6 separate regions of the Homo sapiens genome follow, and regions 2, 3, 4, 5 and 6 are each linked to region 1. The links are contacts of gene promoters, found by promoter capture Hi-C in blood cells and fetal thymus (Javierre and others, 2016). All regions are on one chromosome and are shown on one strand. Each heading gives the region's core, a stretch centred on a gene start or on the middle of the fragment in contact. The rest is flanking DNA. Distances are from core to core; before and after follow the strand shown.

Evidence for each region. Contacts are between HindIII fragments. The CHiCAGO score rates a contact against its expected background, and 5 or more counts as called.
Region 2: a fragment that was not itself captured here is called in contact with the fragment with the promoter of DNAJA2 in region 1 in 1 of 17 cell types (total CD8 T cells); the score reaches 5.7 in total CD8 T cells.
Region 3: a fragment that was not itself captured here is called in contact with the fragment with the promoter of DNAJA2 in region 1 in 6 of 17 cell types (M1 macrophages, monocytes, neutrophils and 3 more); the score reaches 13.0 in M1 macrophages.
Region 4: a contact is called between the fragment with the promoter of LONP2 here and the fragment with the promoter of DNAJA2 in region 1, in 1 of 17 cell types (naive CD8 T cells). The highest score is 7.3, in naive CD8 T cells.
Region 5: a fragment that was not itself captured here is called in contact with the fragment with the promoter of DNAJA2 in region 1 in 1 of 17 cell types (non-activated CD4 T cells); the score reaches 6.2 in non-activated CD4 T cells.
Region 6: a fragment that was not itself captured here is called in contact with the fragment with the promoter of DNAJA2 in region 1 in 1 of 17 cell types (endothelial precursors); the score reaches 6.5 in endothelial precursors.

What each region holds. Positions count from the first base shown.
Region 1 is chr16:46,972,044-46,975,399 of GRCh38, forward strand. DNAJA2 (DnaJ heat shock protein family (Hsp40) member A2) reads right to left here and starts at 1,631. Exons shown (of 9, transcript NM_005880.4): 1 at 1,452-1,631. The coding sequence starts at 1,529. DNAJA2-DT (DNAJA2 divergent transcript) reads left to right here and starts at 1,729. Exons shown (of 2, transcript NR_186372.1): 1 at 1,729-2,082. RefSeq lists silencers at 503-582, 933-1,002, 1,033-1,082, 1,233-1,312, 1,343-1,392 and enhancers at 1,823-1,892, 1,953-2,042. The HindIII fragment of the contact is 5,496 bases long and covers 283-3,356 here.
Region 2 is chr16:48,282,468-48,286,012 of GRCh38, forward strand. The region is part of intron 8 of LONP2 (lon peptidase 2, peroxisomal); the gene reads left to right. Among named protein-coding and RNA genes, the nearest start is that of ABCC11, 37 kb to the left of the region's middle. RefSeq lists an enhancer at 795-1,321. The HindIII fragment of the contact is 1,807 bases long and covers 937-2,743 here.
Region 3 is chr16:48,185,400-48,188,952 of GRCh38, forward strand. ABCC11 (ATP binding cassette subfamily C member 11) reads right to left here. Exons shown (of 30, transcript NM_001370497.1): 21 at 1,802-2,028; 22 at 1,554-1,691. Among named protein-coding and RNA genes, the nearest start is that of ABCC12, 31 kb to the left of the region's middle. RefSeq lists a silencer at 3,039-3,333. The HindIII fragment of the contact is 4,577 bases long and covers 1-3,553 here.
Region 4 is chr16:48,242,529-48,245,942 of GRCh38, forward strand. It overlaps LONP2 (lon peptidase 2, peroxisomal), which reads left to right and starts at 1,772. Exons shown (of 15, transcript NM_031490.5): 1 at 1,772-2,093. The coding sequence starts at 1,861. All of the region lies in intron 1 of ABCC11 (ATP binding cassette subfamily C member 11), which reads right to left. RefSeq lists an enhancer at 1,708-1,797. The HindIII fragment of the contact is 24,694 bases long and covers 1-3,414 here.
Region 5 is chr16:48,261,283-48,264,483 of GRCh38, forward strand. It overlaps LONP2 (lon peptidase 2, peroxisomal), which reads left to right. Exons shown (of 15, transcript NM_031490.5): 5 at 142-305; 6 at 1,496-1,590. Among named protein-coding and RNA genes, the nearest start is that of ABCC11, 15 kb to the left of the region's middle. The HindIII fragment of the contact is 4,245 bases long and covers 1-3,201 here.
Region 6 is chr16:48,124,138-48,127,326 of GRCh38, forward strand. It overlaps ABCC12 (ATP binding cassette subfamily C member 12), which reads right to left. Exons shown (of 31, transcript NM_001393797.1): 12 at 76-147. Among named protein-coding and RNA genes, the nearest start is that of ABCC12, 30 kb to the right of the region's middle. RefSeq lists an enhancer at 1-43. The HindIII fragment of the contact is 4,858 bases long and covers 1-3,189 here.

The sequences.
Region 1 (3,356 bases), core at 381-2,880:
AATGTTCTAGAGTTATAACCTTTCAAAAATATTTTCTATTCGTAGGGATTCTTCGGCACTTTCTCGCGATACTGTTTACTAATGTAATATAACCAAGTAGACAGCAGCTATACTTGAAAACAGGTTACAGTGACGTGAAAACCAGATAAAACAATGAAGCAATGCCACAGGGAAAAACAAAACGTTCAAACATTATCCATATTTTCCCTATTGTCAAGTGTCTTTGATGGCCAAGTAACCAGACCAAGACGACCCTAATAAATTCGAGATAAATGACTGTTAAGCTTTGCGGACTGCAAAACATTACTATAAATCAAGCTAAAGTCACAATTCCTGCTCCCGATGGCTCACGCCTTCCTTCTAACTGTAACATCATGAAAAAGTAAAGGTGGTCCTAGTTAGCGTCTTTTGGTGTTTTATTTGCACGTGGTGGTTAACTGGGGTCGTGGTGGCAACTTCGGTGGTAGAGAAGTTGCACACACTCTCAACGAGGTGTTTGGGTCCTAAAGCACTTAAATCTTCATTCACGGAGGCTCGTGAATTATATAATACAGACTAGCATTTCCGGTAAGGTAACAGGAAGTCCACTGTACTCTTCTCACTGCCTAAGGAGCATTCTCATTTTTCTCGGCTTACAAATCTGGATGCTCTTAGCCTGGTGAGGATGCTGTGGGGCTTAAATGCCTCGTGTGCTTTGAAATCCTGAGATGAAAGATATCGCAGCATTGCAAATAGCAATAATAAGGCCTTCTATTTATGTTTACTGTACACTCAGGCGTTTGGCTGGGACCACGGCTTATTCCTAAGCAGGTACAGGACATTAGCATTACCTGCCCAAAGAACAATGCATCCAAACACAGACCCAGCTACCTCCGGGTCAATGGGCGAGGGACGCAGAGAGGGAGGAGCTCCCGCAGCCGGCGGCCGCGGAACCCAGGAAACAACCCCATCCGCCCGAGGCGCTCTGTGGGGGCGGCCTCGACCTCCCCGCCGTTCCTCCCCGCGGAGCACCAGACCCGGGGCCGACGGCCGCGGGGCGGACAGCTTCTCTCTCGGGGCCGGGATGCGCTGAGCACCTCGGTCCAACCTGTTTTTCCGGGGTGGTGACCTCGACGCGAAGGACCGGGCGAGCTGCTGCCTCCCGGGGGATACCAGCCCCCGGCGCTCGTTCAAGGAGGGAGGAAGGAAGGGCTCCCATCGTGTTTGCGCAGGAGTGAGTTTTATTTGCTGCATCTGCGGGCGGGCGGGGCCGGCGGCCCCAAGGTCAGCCGAGGCCGGAGTGCGCGGCTCGCGGCGAGGCCGGTCCCGCCGCCGCCGCCGACTCCCAGCCCGGGCCAGTCACGGCCGGCGCCGGCTCGCGGGCAGCCCAGTAGCGCGGCCTGGCTGAAGAAGACATCCCTGGCCGCGCAGGCCCCGCGCCCCTCACACCCGCCCGGCCCGCTCCCAGATACCTTCTTCAGCTCGTTCTCGCTGGCGCCGGGCGGGACGCCCAGGATGTCGTACAGCTTCGTGTCAGCCACGTTAGCCATGGCGGCCGGCCGGGCAGTGCTCGGGGAGAAGGTGGCGAAGCAGACAGAGCGGAGTCGGGCCCACAAGCGGCGTCGGCGGCGGCACAGGCCGAGGGAGACAGCGAGGGGGAAGCGGGGGCGGGGCTGAACTTTGACCCAGCGCACGGTGCGCCGTGACGTCGCTGTGCAGAGCCCGCCCCCGAGCGCCCGAGGCGCGGCCACTGGGGTCGAAGTATTGAAGAGTGGGCCAGGTTCTCTGTTTTCCTCCAGGTCCAGGCGGCTGGGCAGGGCCAACGTAGGAAATGAAGAACTGTGCACGGCGCACCCCAGGAATTCAGCTTCCTCTCAAAAGCCATGGTTGCGAGGTCGCGTGTTTAACCTCGCACTGGCTGCTGAGGGAATTAACAGGCCTGCGCAGCAGCTTCGTTAGCTTCGAAAGAAAATGGGCCCCGGCTCCCGCAGGAGGCCCGCCTGGCGCGCAGATGTCGTTATTAGAATCCGGGACGTCGGTGGACCCTCTGGGTCTGGCTCCCTCGGGGCTTACGATGAAAAAAACTGGGGGGCGCGTGTGTGTGTATGTTGTGTTTTATATTATGAGAATTCTGAAACATTTAGCAGAAGCAGTATATTACTCCCCATAGTGCAGTTAGCTACCTTTTACCTGTTTCATTGGCTCCACCATACATTTCTAGTGTTTTAAGGGAAACCGTTTCATTCATAAATACCCTAAGTGTATATATTTAATATCTAAGAGACAACTTTTAAAGGCATAACGATGTAATCTCATCTAATGAAATTAACAATTCCTTAATCTAATTCCCAGTCCATATTTAGGTTTTTCAGATGATCTCATGTCCTTTTACAATTGGTTTGTGGCATCCGGGTCCAAACCAAGGTCCACATGTTGCATCTGGACCACGTGTTTAAGCCTCTTACTTGATAGCTTTAAAATTAGCTAACACCAGAGGTTTAGATGGTGTAAGGCAAGTCTGGCCACCAGGTGACTTGATTTACATTCGTTTTAGTTTCGCTCAGAAAGTATGCTGTGCATCTACCAAGTGCTATGATGTACAGAGGCCTGGTCCGGGGAGAGGAGTGTTACAAAAGTGCCTGCCTTCAACCCATTTACGGTTTATGGAGACAGAAAAGTAAGGTTTTCTGATCCCTTGGAACCTGAACTGATAGCAAAGACTTCAGCATAAGCATCTCACTCAGGATAATGTTTCTTCCTTGGCGTTCCCTTTGACCTAGTTGTGGAGGGCCTGAATTCCATGACAAGGACTCTGAAATTTAGCTTGAAAACCCTAAGAGTAATCAGTGATAAGTCATTAATAGTCCTTAAACCCTTTTCCTCAAATCCCATCTGAAATCCTGCTCCCTCTGTGAAGTCTTCCTTTACTGGGCACTGGTGAACACTGCTATCTCATTCGAGTTCCCACCACCCTTCGTTTGTACCTTTTGTGGTAGGATCTCGAACTCTTTTGTTTTTTTTTTTTTTTTTTTTTTTTTACTTGAAACAGCGTCTCGTTATGTCGCTCAGGCTGGAGTGCAGTGGCGCCATCTCAGCTCGCTGCAACCTCCACCTCCCGGCTTCAAGTGATTCTCCCACCTCAGCCTCTCGAGTAGCTGGGATTACAGGCGCCCACCACCATGCCCGGCTAATTTTTGTATTTTTAGTAGAGGTGGAGCTTCACCATGTTGACCAGGCTGGTCTCGAACTCCTGATCTCAAATCATCCACCCACCTTGGCCTCCCAAAGTGCTGGGATTGCAGGCCTGAGCCACTGCCTCTGCCAACCGCCATTGCCGTGTAAATGCTGACGTCATCCTCATGCACGGCTGTAAAATC
Region 2 (3,545 bases), core at 590-3,089, 1.3 Mb after region 1:
CTGTTGACACCATTTTTCCAACATCTTACTTCATGTCTGTATGTCACATTTTGGTAGTTATTGCAATATTTTTAACTTTTTCATTATTATATCTATTATGATGATCTGTTATCAGTGATCTTTGGTATTGCTATTGTGATTGTTTTGGGGCACCACAAACTGCACCCATATAAGACAGCAAACTTAATCAATAAATGTTGAGTATGTACTAACTGCTCAACTGGCCAGGCATTCCCCTTTCTCTCTCCCTCTCCTCTGGCTCCTATTCCCTGAGACACAGCAATATTGAAATTAGGCCAAGTAATAACCCTGCAGTGGCTTCTAAGTGTTGAAGTGAAAGGAAGAGTCACACATCTCATTGTAAATCGAAAGCTAAAAATAATTAAGCTTAGTGAGGAAGGCATGTTGAAAGCTAGGCCTCTTGTGCCAGATAGCCAAGTTGTGAGTTCAGAGGAAAAATTCTCAAAGGAAATTAGAAATGCTATTCCAGTGAACACACCAATGATAAGAAAGTGAAATGGCCTTATTGCTGATATGAAGAAAGTTTTAGTGGTCTGGATAAAAGATTAAGCCAACTACAACATTCCCTTAAGCCGAAACCTAGTCCAGAGCAAGGCCCTAAGGCTCTTCAGTTCTATGAAAGCTGAGAGAGGTGAGAAAGCTGCAGAAGAAAAATTTGAAGCTAACAGAAGTTGGTTCATGAGATTTAAGGCAAGAAGCCATTTCTACAACATAAAGTGCAAAGGGAAGCAGCAAGTACTGATGTATTGTAGAAGCTGCATCATGTTATCTATCCAGAACATCTAGCTAACATCATTGATAAAGGTGGCTACACTAAAAAACAGATTTTCTATGTAGATGAAACAGCCTTATTTTGTATTGGAAGAAGTGTCATTTAGGACTTTCATGGCTAGAGAAGTCAGTACCTGGCTTCAAAGCTTCAAAGGGCAGGCTAACTCTTGTTAGGGGCTAATGCAGCTGGTGACTTTAAGATGAAGCCAGTGCTCATTGACCATTCTGAAAACCCTAAGGCCCTTAAGAATGATGCAAAATCTACTCTGCCTTTGTTCTGTAAATGGAACAACAAAGCCTAGGTGACAATGCATCTGTTTATAGCATGGTTTTACTAAGTACTTTAAGCCCACTGTTGAAACTTACCGTTCAAAAAAAATAGATTCTTTTGAAAATATTACTGCTCGTTGTCAATGCTTCTGGTCACCCAAGAGCTGTGATGGAGATGTACAAGGAGATTAATACTGTTTTCATTCCTTATAAAACAACATCCATTCTGCAGCCCATGGATCAAGGAGTTATTTTAACTTTCAAGTCTTATTATTTAAGAAACACATTTTTTAAGGCTATTGCTCCCATAGATTATGATTCGTCCCATGCATCAGGGCGAAGTACATTGAAAACCCCTAGAAAAGATTCACCATTCTAGATGCCATTAAGAACATTCATGATTCACGGGAGGAGGTCAAAATATCAACATGAACAGGAGTTCAGGAAGAGTTGATTCCAGCCCTCATGGATGACTTTGAGGGGTTCAGACTTCAGTGGAGGAAGTTACCGCAGTTGTGGTAGAAATAGCAAGAGAACTAGAATTAGAACCCAAAGATGTGACTGAAATACTGCAATCTCATGGTAAAACTTGAACAGATGAGGAGTTGCTTCTTACAGATGAGCAAAGAAAGCGGGTTTCTTGAAATGGAATCTAGTCCTGGTGAGGATGCTATGAACCTTGTTGAAATGACAACCTTGATGTTGTGAACCTTGTTGAAATTCTAAACAAGATTTAGAATATTACATAAACATAGTTGATAAAGGCAGCAACAGGGTTTGAAAGGATTGACTTCAATTTTGAAAGAAATTCTACGGTGGGCAAAATGCTATCGAATAGCAATGCAGGCTATAAGAAATTGTTTCATGAAAGGAAGAGTCAATAGATGAAGCAAATTTTACTGTTGCCTTATTTTAAGAAATCGCCACAGCCACCCTAACTTTCAGCAGCCACCACCTGATCAGTCATCAACCATTAATATTGAGACAAGACACTCCACCAGCAAAATGACAACAACTAACACTGAAGACTCAGGTGATTAGCATTTTATAGCAAGAAAGTATTTGTTAATTAAGGCATGTACATTGTTTTTTAGACATAATGCTATTGCACACTTAATAGACTATAGTATATTGTGTAAACATAACTTTTATATGCACTGGGAAACAAAAAAAAACATACATGTGACTCACTCTGTTGCAAAATTTGCTTTATTGCAGTGGTCTGGAACTGAACCCACAGTGTCTCTGAGGTATACCTGTATTGAGGAGGGGTTGCAAATTTTAGCACATAGGCAAATTTGCAAATATGGAATAATAAGGATCAACTGTAATTACTGCTTTATGCCATTATCTTTTAAATCAGATAAGAAAAAGTTACGTCAACAATATATTTACACTGCCTTTTATGTTTGCAATGTAATCACTTCTGCCAGTGCGCTCTATTTCTTTGTGTGGATACTGTCTAGTGTCCTTAAACTTCAGTCTTTCATATTTCTTGTCTCATCTCCTGGTGACATATTCTCAGTTTTTGTTTTTCTGGGAATGTCTTAATTTCTCCTTCATTTTTGAAGTAATTTTGTTGGTATAGAATTTGGGTTGACAATTGTTTGCTTTCAGCCCTTTCGCATGTCCTCTCACCACTTTCTGGTCTCTGTGGTTTCTGCTGTGAAGCCAGCTGTTAAGCTTGTGGCGGATCTCTTATGCCTAATGAGGGCAGCATTTTTCTCTCATAGTTTTCAGTATTCTCTCTTTGTCTTTCATTTCTGACAGATTGACTGTGTTTATGTGTGATCCTCTGAGTTTACTTAGTTCTTTTTGAGCTTCTTGGATGTGTAGGTAAATGTTTTTCATCAAATTTGAGAAGTATGTGGCCAGTATTTCTTCAAATATTCTTTATGCCCCTTTCTTTTTCCTCTCCTTCTGAAACTCGTATTATGGTGTGTTGGTAATCTTTGTGGAGTCCCGTAGGTCTCTAAAGTGCTGTTCACTTTTTTTAAAGCCTTTTTTCTTTCTATTCTTCAGACAGGATCATCTCAGTTGACCTGTCTTCAAGTTCATTGATTCTTTCTTCTGCCAGCTGAAATTGTCATTCAGCCCCTCTAGTGAATTTTTCATTCAAATTACTGTAGTTTTCAACTCCAAAATTTCTATTTTAAAATTTTTATTATTTATCTTTGTTTATATTCTCTATTTGTCAAGACATCATTCTCATACTTTCCTGTAATTCTTTAGACATGATTTCCTTTAGTTTTTTTAAATGTTAGTAAATATAACAGAAAAAGTCCCATTTTTACCACTTTTATGTGTACAGTTCAGTAATGTTAAGCACATTCGCATTGTTGTGCAGCCAATCTCCAGAACTTTTTCATCTTGTTAAAGTGAAGGTGTATACTCATTACACAGCAATTCCCTGTTTCTTTCTCCCTCCCTCAGTCCCTGGCAGCTACCATTCTCTTTTCTGTTTCTATGAGTGACTACTCTAT
Region 3 (3,553 bases), core at 850-3,349, 1.2 Mb after region 1:
ACCTACCAATTTCCAATTTTCACATACCACCATCACAGTTTTCCATGTCAATCACAACCTGTACTGTTATTTGATTAGTATTATTATTTTACTTGCTTTGTTTGAGAATGTATATTAAAAGAAACTTTAATCACAACCTTAAATTATATAAATAATGGGTTTGATATGTTAGTTGCATTTTTTCTAAAGTACATTCAAATAAACCTTTGATTATTGAAATTAAATATTCATTTACTCATCAACTAAAACCATCTTACCATCTGAGTGGGCTATCACCCCAGCAGAGTGGCCCTTCTGACTCACTCTGTCCATACCCTCTGAACCTTTGCATAAGACATTCCAAATTCTGTCCACCTTACCTTTCTATACTGATTGAGTCACCTCCACCTTGAGGCCTTCCCAGATTAAACACAACAGACCCTGGTCACTCTGTGGCCCCTGTGCTCAAGCCACCTTGCTATCCTTCAAACCTACTTCCCCCATCTCATGGTCTTTGCATTTACTGTCCCCTCTGCCTGGAGAGCTCCTACCCACATATTTCCATAGCTCAACCCACACTTCATCTCAGGGTCCTTTTCTCTGACACCTTCCCCAACAACAGCTCCAATCCCTCCAGACTCTCTTCATCTGCTTATCTTAGTATATACCTTGGGGCAGGGTTCTCAGTGTGGGCTGAATGAATGCACCGCTCCAGGATCCCCTCAGTCCTAGAGTCTGCACAGACCTTGAGTGGTCTATAATGCCACTGAGAGAGCAGGTGCCACAATTAATCCAATATTCCAGCTAACTGAGCACATACCGTCTCCCAAATGTGTGCCCAAGTCTTACCCAGGCTTCAAGGCCAGCTCAGATGCCACCTCCTCCCGAAAGCCTTATCTGATTCCCCCAGGCCACCTCCTTCCCCTCTGAATTCCCAAGCAGTTTATCTGCCCCTCTCTTATGCTATCTACCTTCTTCAATCACGTATAATTACAAAAACATGTGCCTGTTTCTCCCTTTTTCCACCAGACTATGAACTTCTTGTAGGTGAAGACCGTGCTTGATTATTCTCTACAAACAGATAAGTTCGTGTTACACCATTAAACCTCAACAACAATCACAGGACTTGTTTGCTTGTTTGTTTCAACATTTAGGGGGCAAATCTATGGCATGAGTAGTGAAGGAAGTTCTATTATTTAGAAAGCTATTGTTCCTCATTATTTTGTTAAAGATAGATATTTGTTTGGAAGTGAAAGAAATAACATAATGCAAGATGTGTTTGCACAGTAATGCACCTTATCATTAAATGTATGTATACATATGTCCATATATATATACACAATATATACAAGGTCTTTAAAGTTTACAAACATTTTTCCTATCATTTACATTTTTCATTCTTATAAATGAAAGAATGGTTCAGCAGGTTCTGGAGGCTCAGAGAAATACGTCCATCGAACAATGTGCTCTCTGATGCTTTTGAAGATGATGCCACTCCCAGACGCTCCATTCTTTCCCTGCTCCCCACCACCCCTGTGGTTCCATCATTCTCAAATGGCAGCAGAAGGACTCACTGGCTGATGAAGTCTTCAGTTTTTCCATAGACATGGATGGAGCTCAGGCCTTGCAGAGAATTGAGGATGTGGGAGAATAAAGGAGACCGGCTATAGTTCTCCAGTCTCTTGAACACACCGATGGCCTTCTTGAACATCCTGCATGGACAGTGGAGGTAAGGGACCTGGACCGTCCACCTCTGGGACCATCTAGTCTGGGTTGGTCCCAGCCTTGCTCCCCAAGTCACAAGCAAAAAGAACCTACTCACATATAATAAATGAAGCAAATAACCATGATTATGGCTCCCATTAACAGGATATATGGAGACAGCACACTGACAATCAACAGGACGGCGATCACCATTAAGGACAGGACCAGGAACTGCTCTGAAAAGATGGGCAAGAGCTGGTCCAGCTGTTCCAAGTCCCCTGCGAAGCAGTTCAAAAGCCGGCCTATTGGGATGGTGTCAAAGAAACTCATGGGGCAGCGGAAAACCTGCAGGGACAAAATCAACGCAGACCATGAGAGAAGCTGCAGGCCCTGCTCAAGATTGGATGAAGATGCCTGTTACCCTTGACTCTAAAGAGCCACGGATCCCAGGGGTCTCCAGGGCAGGCAATGTAGAGCAATGATTTAAAAGCATGGATGGGCTCCACGGCTACCTGACTCCTCCACCTACTGCTGTCTGACCTCGGGCAAGTACTGAGTTCCTCTGAGTCTCAAGGTCCTCGTTAGCGAAATGGGAATGAAAACGATGCTTCACAGAGTTGTAGTGAGGATCACACAACTCCTCAAATATACTAAACACTGAAGTGTATAATTAAAAGGCTGAATGTATGGTATATGAATTATATCCTGTAAAGCTATTAGAGAGAGAGAGAATACATTAAAAATGCTCAGAGCAGTGCCTGCCCCTGAGGTAGGAGGTGAGACTTGACTCTGGAGGCAGGGTTTGAACGCCAGACCAAATTGAGGACTAGCTAAAACAGGGGTGGGGTGGAAGCCACTTTCCATAAGACAGGCCCACCAGTGTGTCGTGTCAGTTTACCATTCCCATGGCAACACCCAGGAGTTACCGCCTCTTTCTGGGTCATCAATGACTTGATGACTTGGAAGTTGCCACCCTTTTCCTAGAAACTTCTGTATAAACTGTCCCTTAATCTACATGTAATTAAAAGTAGGTATAAATATGACTGCAAACCTGCCCTGAGCTGCAGCTCTCAGCACACTGCCTACGGGGTAGCCCTGCTCTGCAGGGTCAGTCACAGAGCTGCAACACTGCCAGAACTGCAACAGTGACACTTCAGTAAAGCTGTTTTCTTCTACCCTACCACTGGCTTGCCCTTGAATTCTTTCCTGGGCAAAGCCAAGAACCCTCATGGACTAAGCCCCAGTCTGGGGTTTACCTGCCCTCCATCACCCCCAGTAGGGCATTCTACCAATACCAGCTCTTATTATTTTCTACAGATGGGACCATTTTCACTCAGGACTGCCAAAGATTAGGAGCAGCAATCCTACTGGGTTGCACACGATTTGGACCCTTGGATCAAATTTAGCCTTAACTGCCCCCTTCTTGAGGGTGGCACCTGCAAGTTGATCTCTAACAGCCAGTGGCCATGAGGCCTTTCGGAGATCAAAGGACATGTCAAACCACAAGGTAGGCTCTAACAAAAGCATTTAGTTTGGTGTCCTTGTTTTGCAGATGAGGAAACTGAAGATTGCAGAAGAGGAAGTGGCTCTGTAACTTACTCATTACGCAAGTGGTTAATGGCAAAACCATGATCCAATTAGGCCTTCTGAGGCTTCCCCAAGCCTGGCACAGTCACTCTTCACAGAAGGCAATTTCTTAAAGGTTCATGGCACTGACCAAATGACCACCTACATTTCCCCATGTACTTCTCAAGCTATAATGCAAGAAGTAGAAATGAATAGAAGCCAATGGCATTTATTAAAGCCAAACTCAAAGAAAGAGGAGGGAAGGACATTTTGACGGTTACTAAATGTAATTATTTGAGCCATG
Region 4 (3,414 bases), core at 522-3,021, 1.3 Mb after region 1:
AGCCATCCCATTGCTGGGTATATACCCAAAGGATTATAAATCATGCTGCTATAAAGACACACACACACGTATGCTTACTGCGGCACTATTCGCAATAGCAAAGACTTGGAACCAACCCAAATGTCCATCAATGATAGACTGGATTAAGAAAATGTGGCACATATACACCATGGAATACTATGCAGCCATAAAAAAGGATGAGTTCATGTCCTTTGTAGGGACATGGATGATGCTGGAAACCATCATTCTGAGCAAACTATCGCAAAGACCGAAAACAAAACACTGCAAGTTCTCACTCATAGGTGGCAACTGAACAATGAGAACACTTGGACACAGGGTGGGGAACATCACACTCAGGGGCCTGTCGTTGGGTGGTGGGGAGTGGGGGGGAAGGGATACCATTAGGAGATATACCTAATGTAAATGACGAGTTAGTGAGTGCAGCAAACCAACATGGCACATGTATACATATGTAACAAACCTGTACGTTGTGCACATGTACCCTAGAACTTAAACTATAATAAAAAATAAAATTAAATTAAAAACAGAAAAAAAATAAAAGTATCAAGGTTGTAAAAAAAAAAAAAATTGGACGGGCGCAGTGGCTCAGGCCTGTAATCCCAGCACTTTTGGGAGGCCAAGGCGGGCAGATCACGAGGTCAGGAGATTGAGACCATCCTGGCTAACATGGCGAAACCCCGTCTCTACTAAAAATACAAAAAATTAGCCGGGCGTGGTTGCGGGTGCCTGTAGTCCCCAGCTACTCGGGAGGCTGAAGCAGGAGAATGGCATGAACCCGGGAGGCGGAGCTTGCAGTGAGCCGAGATCTCGCCACTACACTCCAGCCTGGGTGACAGAGCGAGACTCCGTCTCAAAAAAAAAAAAAAAAAAAAAAAATTGAGGACTTGCCACAGATTAGAGAACACCTAGGAGATTTCATAACAAAACACCTAGGAGATTTCACAACAGGATCCTGGATATTGGATCCTGGACCAGATCCAATGAAGGACATTAGTGGGAAAACTGGCAAAATTTGGGTAAGGCCTATAGGTTAAACGATAATAATGTTAATTTCCTGGTTTTGATCATTGAACTATGATTATGTAAGATGATAACAGACGAAACTGGGTGAAAGGTATATAGGAACTCTGCTGTAGTTTTGTACATCTAAAATCAATTCGGGCCGGGCACGTTGGCTCACGCCTGTAATCCCAGCACTTTGGGAGGCCGAGGTGGACGGATCGCTTGAGGTCAGGAGTTAAAGACCAGCCTGGCCAACATGGTGAAATCCCCTCCCTACTAAAAATACAACAATTAGCTGGGTGTGGTGGCGGGCATCTGTAATCCCAGCTACTCGGGAGGCTGAGGCAGGAGAATCGCTTGAACCCGGGAGGCAGAGGCTGCAAGCCGTGGGTATCGCGCCATTGCACTCCAGCCTCCGCGACAGAGCGAGAATCTGTCTCAGAATAAATAAATAAATAAATAAATAAATAATTAGTTCGAATCAAAAGTTAAAAACACTTCAAGTATATGTAAAAAATCGAAGAAAACGTTAAAAACACTTCAAGTATATACAATTCAAATAAGATCATCCTTCCAAATATACTCTGTAAGTGAGGCGAAGGTCGCTGCACGCTTGAGTGCACGTCTTTCCGCATAGGTAGGACGCTCAAGTCTTACCGGGAGGCTCTCCTAGAGAGCAGCGCGAAGCCATGGCTTTTGGGCCCGGGGACGGACCGTAGCGCGTAGCCGGAAGCGGAGGCGTGGAGGCGGGTCTGAGGTTTGGTGACTGCGGGGCAGGCCGGGGGCAGCTGTCTGTCTGGCTCTTTTTGACAGCCCCCAGTGCGAAAGGCTGCCAGCATGTCATCAGTGAGCCCCATCCAGATCCCCAGTCGCCTCCCGCTGCTGCTCACCCACGAGGGCGTCCTGCTGCCCGGCTCCACCATGCGCACCAGCGTGGACTCGGCCCGCAACCTGCAGCTGGTGCGGAGCCGCCTTCTGAAGGGCACGTCGCTGCAAAGCACCATCCTGGGCGTCATCCCCAACACGCCTGACCCCGCCAGCGACGCGCAGGACCTGCCGCCGCTGCACAGGTAGGCCTGGCTGCCCCCGCGGCGGCGGCGGGCGGCGCGGCCTCCTCCGGGGACCTGGGCCCAGGCCACGGCCTGCCTTGAGCGCGAGGCTCAGTTCGGGGCGGCCTTCGCGGCTCGGTTCCGCCTCTCTGGTGCTATCACTTGCAAAATGGGGATGTCAGATACCTGCCCCATGACCATGAATGAGATCGTTCATGAAGTAGTGCCTGACACCTGGTGAAACTACGCAGTTCCCTACCGTTCTGGATAATTTAATTTGAATCCTCTTCCCCCTCTCCGCAATTCCTCGCCCTCGGTCTTCAGCCTCCTAGGCCAGTGCTTTTAACTTTCCAGGCCCTTTCTTTCTCCCCGGTGATCTCTGCCTTCACTTGCCTTCGCTTTTCACCTTTCTCCCCACTGCCCTTTACTCCTATCCGCCTCCCCTTTTCTGTCACCCATCATTTTTGTCCGCTGAGGCATTCTCTGCTCCGTGAGTTTTAACTTTTCCTGTTTCATTCCTAAACTGCACTATTTGTGGGTGCCTTTCTTCTATACTCCCTGCCACCCTTCTCCTTCTCCCCCTAATCCTTCTGTTTCCCTTTGTAAAGGGCCTTTACTGCTCACATTTTCGCTGGTCCCCCTTTCTGGAACTTTCCTAGCTTCTCACCTCTGCTCCTTCACTCATAACATTTCTTAGGCCCCAGGCTTACTACTATATTGCCCAGTACCCTCGCCCTATTGGTGTGACTTTGGGTGAGAGCTTTAACCTCTATTTCTTTTATTCTGCAATTTGGAAACTGACAGCATCCATCTCTTAGGCAAGTTATGAAGAATAAATTGAATAATGTGTATATTCCACTTTGCACCATGCATGATGGATGACTTTGCTGTCCAGTACTGTGTAGTGCATGTGGCTCGTCAAATTGAGATGATAGAATTGCCAGTTGTCCTGGTTTGCTGCGATTGTCTGTTTTAGCATTGAAAGTCCTATGTTTTAGCCCCTCCGTCCCAGGGAAACCAGGAGGTTGGTCACCCTAAATGTGCTGTAAGTGTACAATACACGCCAGATTTTGAAAAAACTTTTTGATTAATACATTTTATATGGATTAAATGTTGGAAAGGTAATATTTTGAGTACTTGGGGTTAATAAAATGTTAAGATTTCTGCTGTTTTTACTTTATAATGTGGCCACTAAAATTTTATATGTGGTCCACATTATATTTTTATTGGACAATGCTGGTATATCGTATGCTCTCAACAAGTATCTTCAAACTCACCTGCCAAGCACCCGCCTCCTATTCCTAACTCTACTGGAGGTGTTGTGTTTTCAGTTTAGAGCTTC
Region 5 (3,201 bases), core at 551-3,050, 1.3 Mb after region 1:
TTCTGAACTTCACTTCCTAAAGATAGAGACTGTAGTCATAAAAATATTTATTCAGCACCAGTCATAATCTTATGTGTACCTGGGTACTTCGTTTCCAATTTATTTTGACATACGGTTTTACTTTTCTGCTTTCTATGTTAGGTTATAGCAATACGCCCTATTAGGAGAATTACACATATCTCAGGTACTTTAGAAGATGAAGATGAAGATGAAGATAATGATGACATTGTCATGCTAGAGAAAAAAATACGAACATCTAGTATGCCAGAGCAGGCCCATAAAGTCTGTGTCAAAGAGATAAAGAGGTAAATTATAAAAGGCATTTGTTCATTATTGTTTTCATTCTTGGTACTCCTGATTAACACCACTTTCACTACTCTTTTCTCCAATACTGAGGATACATAATACAAATCTTCCACCTGCAGTGTGCTGTCAGGCAATATAACTCTTGCAGCTGCCTTTTTGTTGTCTGAAAGAACAGACCATGCTTCTTTGTTTATACGTAATGTTTGTTCAGTTAGCATCATATTCTTCACATGTGACTTTTCTTCTCTAGATTATAAACTCTCAAGGGCAAGGACTGTCCATTTCTCTTTGTACAAGACAAAGTACAGGGAAACCTTGATAACAGAATAGGATATATGGGTTGATTACATTTTCTGGATATCCCCAGTGTTAAACTGAAAGCCATTTTTCCTTTGCATACTTTTAACTTTATAACTCTTATTACATTTTCTTTTATTAGTGAATTGTAGTGAGCCTGCTTGAATGCTTAGTGACTTAATATTTGACTTTCTGAGGCTTACAGTTAAGAACATTAGTAATTGTAGTTGATGGGTATTTTATATTGCCTCTGACATTAGTTAATATATGTAGAACATTTATTATGTGCAGAACACTTTGCTAAGCATTGCATATATTATGGAAGTAGCATTTGTTATTAAATATATGATATTAGCTTGCTTTTATGAGCAGACCTCACTCATCTCTGATACAAAAAAAAATGTATTGTATTATGCATAGTTAGGCACTTACATCTTATTGTGATAAGTAAACCAATGGATATATGTCACTTGACTATCCCTGTGAGCTTAAAAGGGACACACACTAGTAAGGCCATATTTCCAGGTTAGAATTAGATATAATGTTTTCTCCTGCAGTTTGCAGGTATCTGCCTTATTTTGTTTTGTAAGTACCTTAAGTACTTAGAAAATATGAGAATACTTTGTAGAGAAAGCAGAGCAGAAGGGAAGAACCCCTCCCTGGTGGGACTCCAGAAGGGGCAGTTAAGTAGGCTGGGGAGAGAGATAGGAGTGGTGATCATTACATTACAAAACAAAATAAACGTTTTATTATCTGGATACTTTAAAACTTTTTCAGATTTGTTTAAACATGCATGATATATCTAACCAAGAAAGAGAGCTGTGTTTGATTTTTCTGTTATGGAATTTTTCTGTGTTCTTGAACATGTTTGCTGTGTATTCTTTCTCCACAGACTCAAAAAAATGCCTCAGTCAATGCCAGAATATGCTCTGACTAGAAATTATTTGGAACTTATGGTAGAACTTCCTTGGAACAAAAGTACAACTGGTAAGCCAAAAAATAACACCTGTTTTGCAGTCTAATTGTCACTCAGAAAGCTCATGCAATTTTTCATTTCAAATTTACTCCACTGATTGTCGTACTGTTAAATTATTTTTGTTTTCAATTTTTTTGAAACCATTTTATTGAAGTGTGATTGTCGTACAAAAAGCTGTATATAATTAATGAATACATCTCAGTGAGTTTCAGAATAAGTATACACCCATGAAACCATCACAATCTTCATAGCCATAAACATATCCGTCACCTCCAAAGTTTCCTCCTACCTCTTTTGTGATTATTATTATCATCATTATTATTGGCTTTTTTCTTTTGGTGCTGGTGGTAAGAACATTGAACATAAGGTCTAATGTTAAATTAACAATATTGTTAGCGATAGGCACTTTTCTTTATAGTAGATCTCTAGAACTTATTTATCTTGCATAAGTGAAACTTTGTTCCCTTTAACCATCACCTCCCATTTCCTTCTCCTCTCATCCTGTGGCAACTACTAGTCTACTCTCCATTTCTATGAGTTTCACTATTTTAGATTCCACATGCATTAAATAGGTGAAATCATACAGTACTTGTCTTTCTGTGTCTGGCTTATTTCACTTAGCATGATGCCCTCTAACCTAGAGGTCCATCCATGTTGTCACAGATGGCAAGATTTCCTTCTTTTTTAAGGTGCATAATATTCCATTGTGTGTCTATACCACATTTTCTTTATTCACTTATGTGTCAGTAGACATTTCAGTTATTTCCGTATCTTGGCTATTGTAAGTAATACTGCAGTGAATACGGAAGTGCAGATAACTCTTTGAGATCCTGATTTCAGTTCCTTTGGCTGTTTACCCAGAGGTGGCATTGCTGGATCATATGTAAGTTGTATTTGAACTTTTTTAGTAACTTCCATACTGTTTTCATAATGGCTGTTATCGGGGGACCTGCCCCAATAATCATGTAGGTTCTTTTCTATTTTCCTAAGCATTGGCTGGCTTGAGAAATAAAGAGACAGAGTACAAAAGAGAGAAATTTTAAAGCTGGGTGTCTGGGGGAGACATCACACGTTGGTAGGATCCGTGATGCCCCACAAGCCACAAAAACCAGCAAGTTTTTATTAGGGATTTTCAAAAGGGGAGGGAGTGTGCGAATAGGTGTGGGTGACAGACATCAAGTACTTAACAGGGTAATAGAATATCACAAGGCAAATGGAGGCAGGGCGAGATCACAGGACCACAGCTCCGAGGCGAAATTAAAATTGCTAATGAAGTTTCGGGCACCATTGTCACTGATAACATCTTATCAGGAGACGGGGTTTTGAGATAACGGATCTGACCAAAATTTATTAGATGGGAATTTCCTCTTCCTAATAAGCCTGGGAGCGCTATGGGAGACTGGAGTCTATCTCACCTCTGCAATCTCGACCATAAGAGACAGGTACGCCCCGGGGGGGCCAGTTCAGAGACCTACCCCTAGGTGCGCATTCTGTTTCTCAGGGACATTCCATGCTGAGAAAAAAGAATTCAGCGATATTTCTTCCATTTGCTTTTGAAAGAAGAGAAATATGGCTCTGTTCTGCCCGGCTCACCAGCGGTCAGAGTTTAAGGTTATCTCTCT
Region 6 (3,189 bases), core at 657-3,156, 1.2 Mb after region 1:
CACGCCTGACCGGAAGGGAGCCATTTCATTGTCATGTTAATGTTCCATCTTCACAGCACTCATCACACAGCTTACCTGTCCTAGGAGAGCTGCAAGGAGGGAGCTCTTTCCACTTCCCACATTCCCACATATTCCCAAGATCTTCCCCTGCCAGAGAAACAGAGATGGGACACAGTCACTCTCTCCCACTTCTTAGAGGGTCTGGCCCAAAGGTGCCACTCCCAAACTATGCTGGTCAGGCCAGGCGGAGAACAAGGGGTCACTGCAGGCTCTGGGGCATGGCAGCTGCAGCCACACCACCCTGGCCCACATAAACAGCCTGGGAGGATGCAGGAATGTAAGTCTTAATTAAGTGCTTTCCCTTGTGTGGCATAGCCAAGCACCCACAGGGCTTCTAGAAATCACGTAAGATCACTGGTGTGAAACAGCCTTGTGCTGGTCTGGGAGACACAGGCCTTGAACAGGAAGGCTATTCTGTGCCCAGACTCCAGAAAAGCAAATCTAATGGGATGCAAAAGGCTGTACAACCCAGGGGGACTAGGGTAGCTTTTGAAGTATGGACATCTAGGGGCTTTTCAAAAATCTGGAATTACTGAGAAGTTACACTATTCTAACATTCTACAGCTCCAGATTTATTAATTCAACCAACAAATCATTATCAGAGCCTGCTATGTGCCAAGCACTGTTCCAACCACCAGCAAGAACAGCAATGAACACAACAGGCAATGGCCTGAGTCTACCCTCATAGAACTTACCTTGTAGTCAGGGGAAGATGGACAGGAAGCAAGACAAGCAAATGAAATGTGGGGCAGGCACATCTATGCTTGCCATGGAGAAAAATAAAGCAGGGAAGAGACAGGGAAGGGACAGGGAGTGGGCTAGAGGCTTGGGGGTACAAGGAAAGCCTTACTGGAAAGGTAGATGTCTTAGCTTGAGTTTTCCCAGAAACAGACCTTGAATCAAGGATTTGAATGAAAGTCACACTCACATTTGGAAGGTGCAGGAAATTCCAGTAGGGAAGAGGAGAAGTGATACAGGAAAGGGAAGGTGGCCCATAAAGGGCAGCCTATTGGGTTGGCTCCCTAACAGAATATCCTACACAGGAGGCAAACGGAACTCAACCCTGCAGGGAAACTGCAGGAAACTCTGGGGAACTGACTATAGCTTTGTCCCACCCAATGGCAGAGGAGGTGGGGTATTGATGCCCCAGCAGTCATTGTTTGAGGGCTGCTCTCTAGTCTGTGAAGGTCTTTATGGAGGTGTGCAGAGCCCTTGGGCACGGATGCAGATAAGGCAGTTGTAAGATGGCCAGGAAACACTTAGAGGTCCAGGGCACATGGGCAGGGACAACATCTGCCACAGGTGACATTTGGGTAAGACGTGAAGGAGGTGAGGAAGGGTGCCATGGGGTATCTGGGGAGAATCATTGCAGGCAAACAGCCCATGTGGAGACTGACGTGTAAGCATGTCCACTCATGTTCAAGCAGATATTGCAATACTGCACTTGGAGCATCTGAGAACATTCTCATGTAGGCCTGCTCCCTGCAATCCCTTAGGGCAAAGATGCCCAACATGGGGCCAAATATGGCTTTTTTCCCACCCCAAGCTAGACCAGAAACGCCCATCCCCTGTCTGCCATTCTCAGCACATGAGAGTCGCTGCCTGTCATCAATAATTCCTTAAACAAGGTCTTTGCTGAATCCCAGGCACCTTGGGATAAAATAGTGATCCACACAGAGGTCTCCCTGCCTTTGTGGAGCCCACATGGATGTAAATTTGGTTGGCTGAGTGCAACTGAGTTCAGATTTCAGTTAAGTCCCACTGAGTGCCACCTACTTTGCCTTCTCGCCACTCTCCCGGTGGAGCACCTGACTTCCCCCATGCTGCATTCCCATTTGCCTCCAAGAGGCCTCCGTGAACTTCCTGTGTTCTAAGGACTTTCTGGCCACACAATGACTTTGCTAATGGCTATTCCATATGTCAGTGACTCTGGAATTCCTGCCTCATGAAATGAAGCTGAATCTATTTAATTCCCCTAAAAGGACTTCAATGAACCGGGGCATTAAAGAGACCGCAGATGTGATGCAGCCTCACCAGGTATTTGGCTGCCCTTTGAGTCCTATCCACTTCTTGGGGCCAAGTAAGAAGCCTTCTAGATTCATCCTTGTCTTTAGCAGAAAATCCATGAGGCCTGTATCCTCTGATGATTCTCCCAACAAACACTGCTGGCCACCTCCAAGCCAGGAGCTGGGCTTCGGGATAACGACATAACTGTGAACAAAAAACCCTGACCCCATGGAGGATCCAGTCTGATGGAATTGAGGAGCTAAACTTGGAAAAACCTGGATGCCCTGTAGAACACTTGAGGGCAGCACTTAAGCTGGACATAATTGTTAAAGAAAAAGGCAACAATCATACCTAACATCAGCTAAGACTTACTATGGGCTTAGCATTTTTATGTGGTATCTGAGTTCCCCCACCACCTTGTGAAATGGGTACTTCTATGAAATGCATGGTGCTGGTAAAGAAACAGAGGCTTAGGGAGCTTCAGCAAGACATCCAAGGTCAAGCAGCTAGGAAGTGGCTGGGCCTGGAACTGGGGTCCCTCAGGCTCCAGAGGCATTGCATTGCCCCCACTGCTCCAGAGGCAACAATGCATTGCCCCCACTTTATCTTCAATTTATTCCACAAAACATTGACTGCATCCTTGAGGCAGGAATTCCAGAGTCACCGACATATGGAATAGCACATTAGCAAAGCCATTGCGTGGCCAGAAAGCAGCGTCCTTAGAACACGGGAAGTTCACGGAGGCCTCTTGGAGGCACATGGGAAGGCAGGGCGGGGGGAAGTCAGGTGCTCCACGGGGAGAGTGGCGAGAAGGCAAAGTAGGTGGCACTCATGGGACTTAGCTGAAATCTGAGCTCAATTGCACTCAGCCAACTAAATATCGTTTCCAATGAATACGTGGCAGACAGCTTTGTTAGCTATGAGAGGTACCACTCTCACACCAGCTATTGAGCTTGACATTGCATAATAAATAAGAACCTCTCCTTCTATAGCGCTTGCACAGGGAAAGAGTGAGTCAACAGGATGAGAGATTAAAATACCAGGCACAAGATTAATGTTGAGCCCTCTGCAGCAAAATCAACACTGCCACCCTGGGAGTCTGCTGCTGAGTTCCCAGAGCAA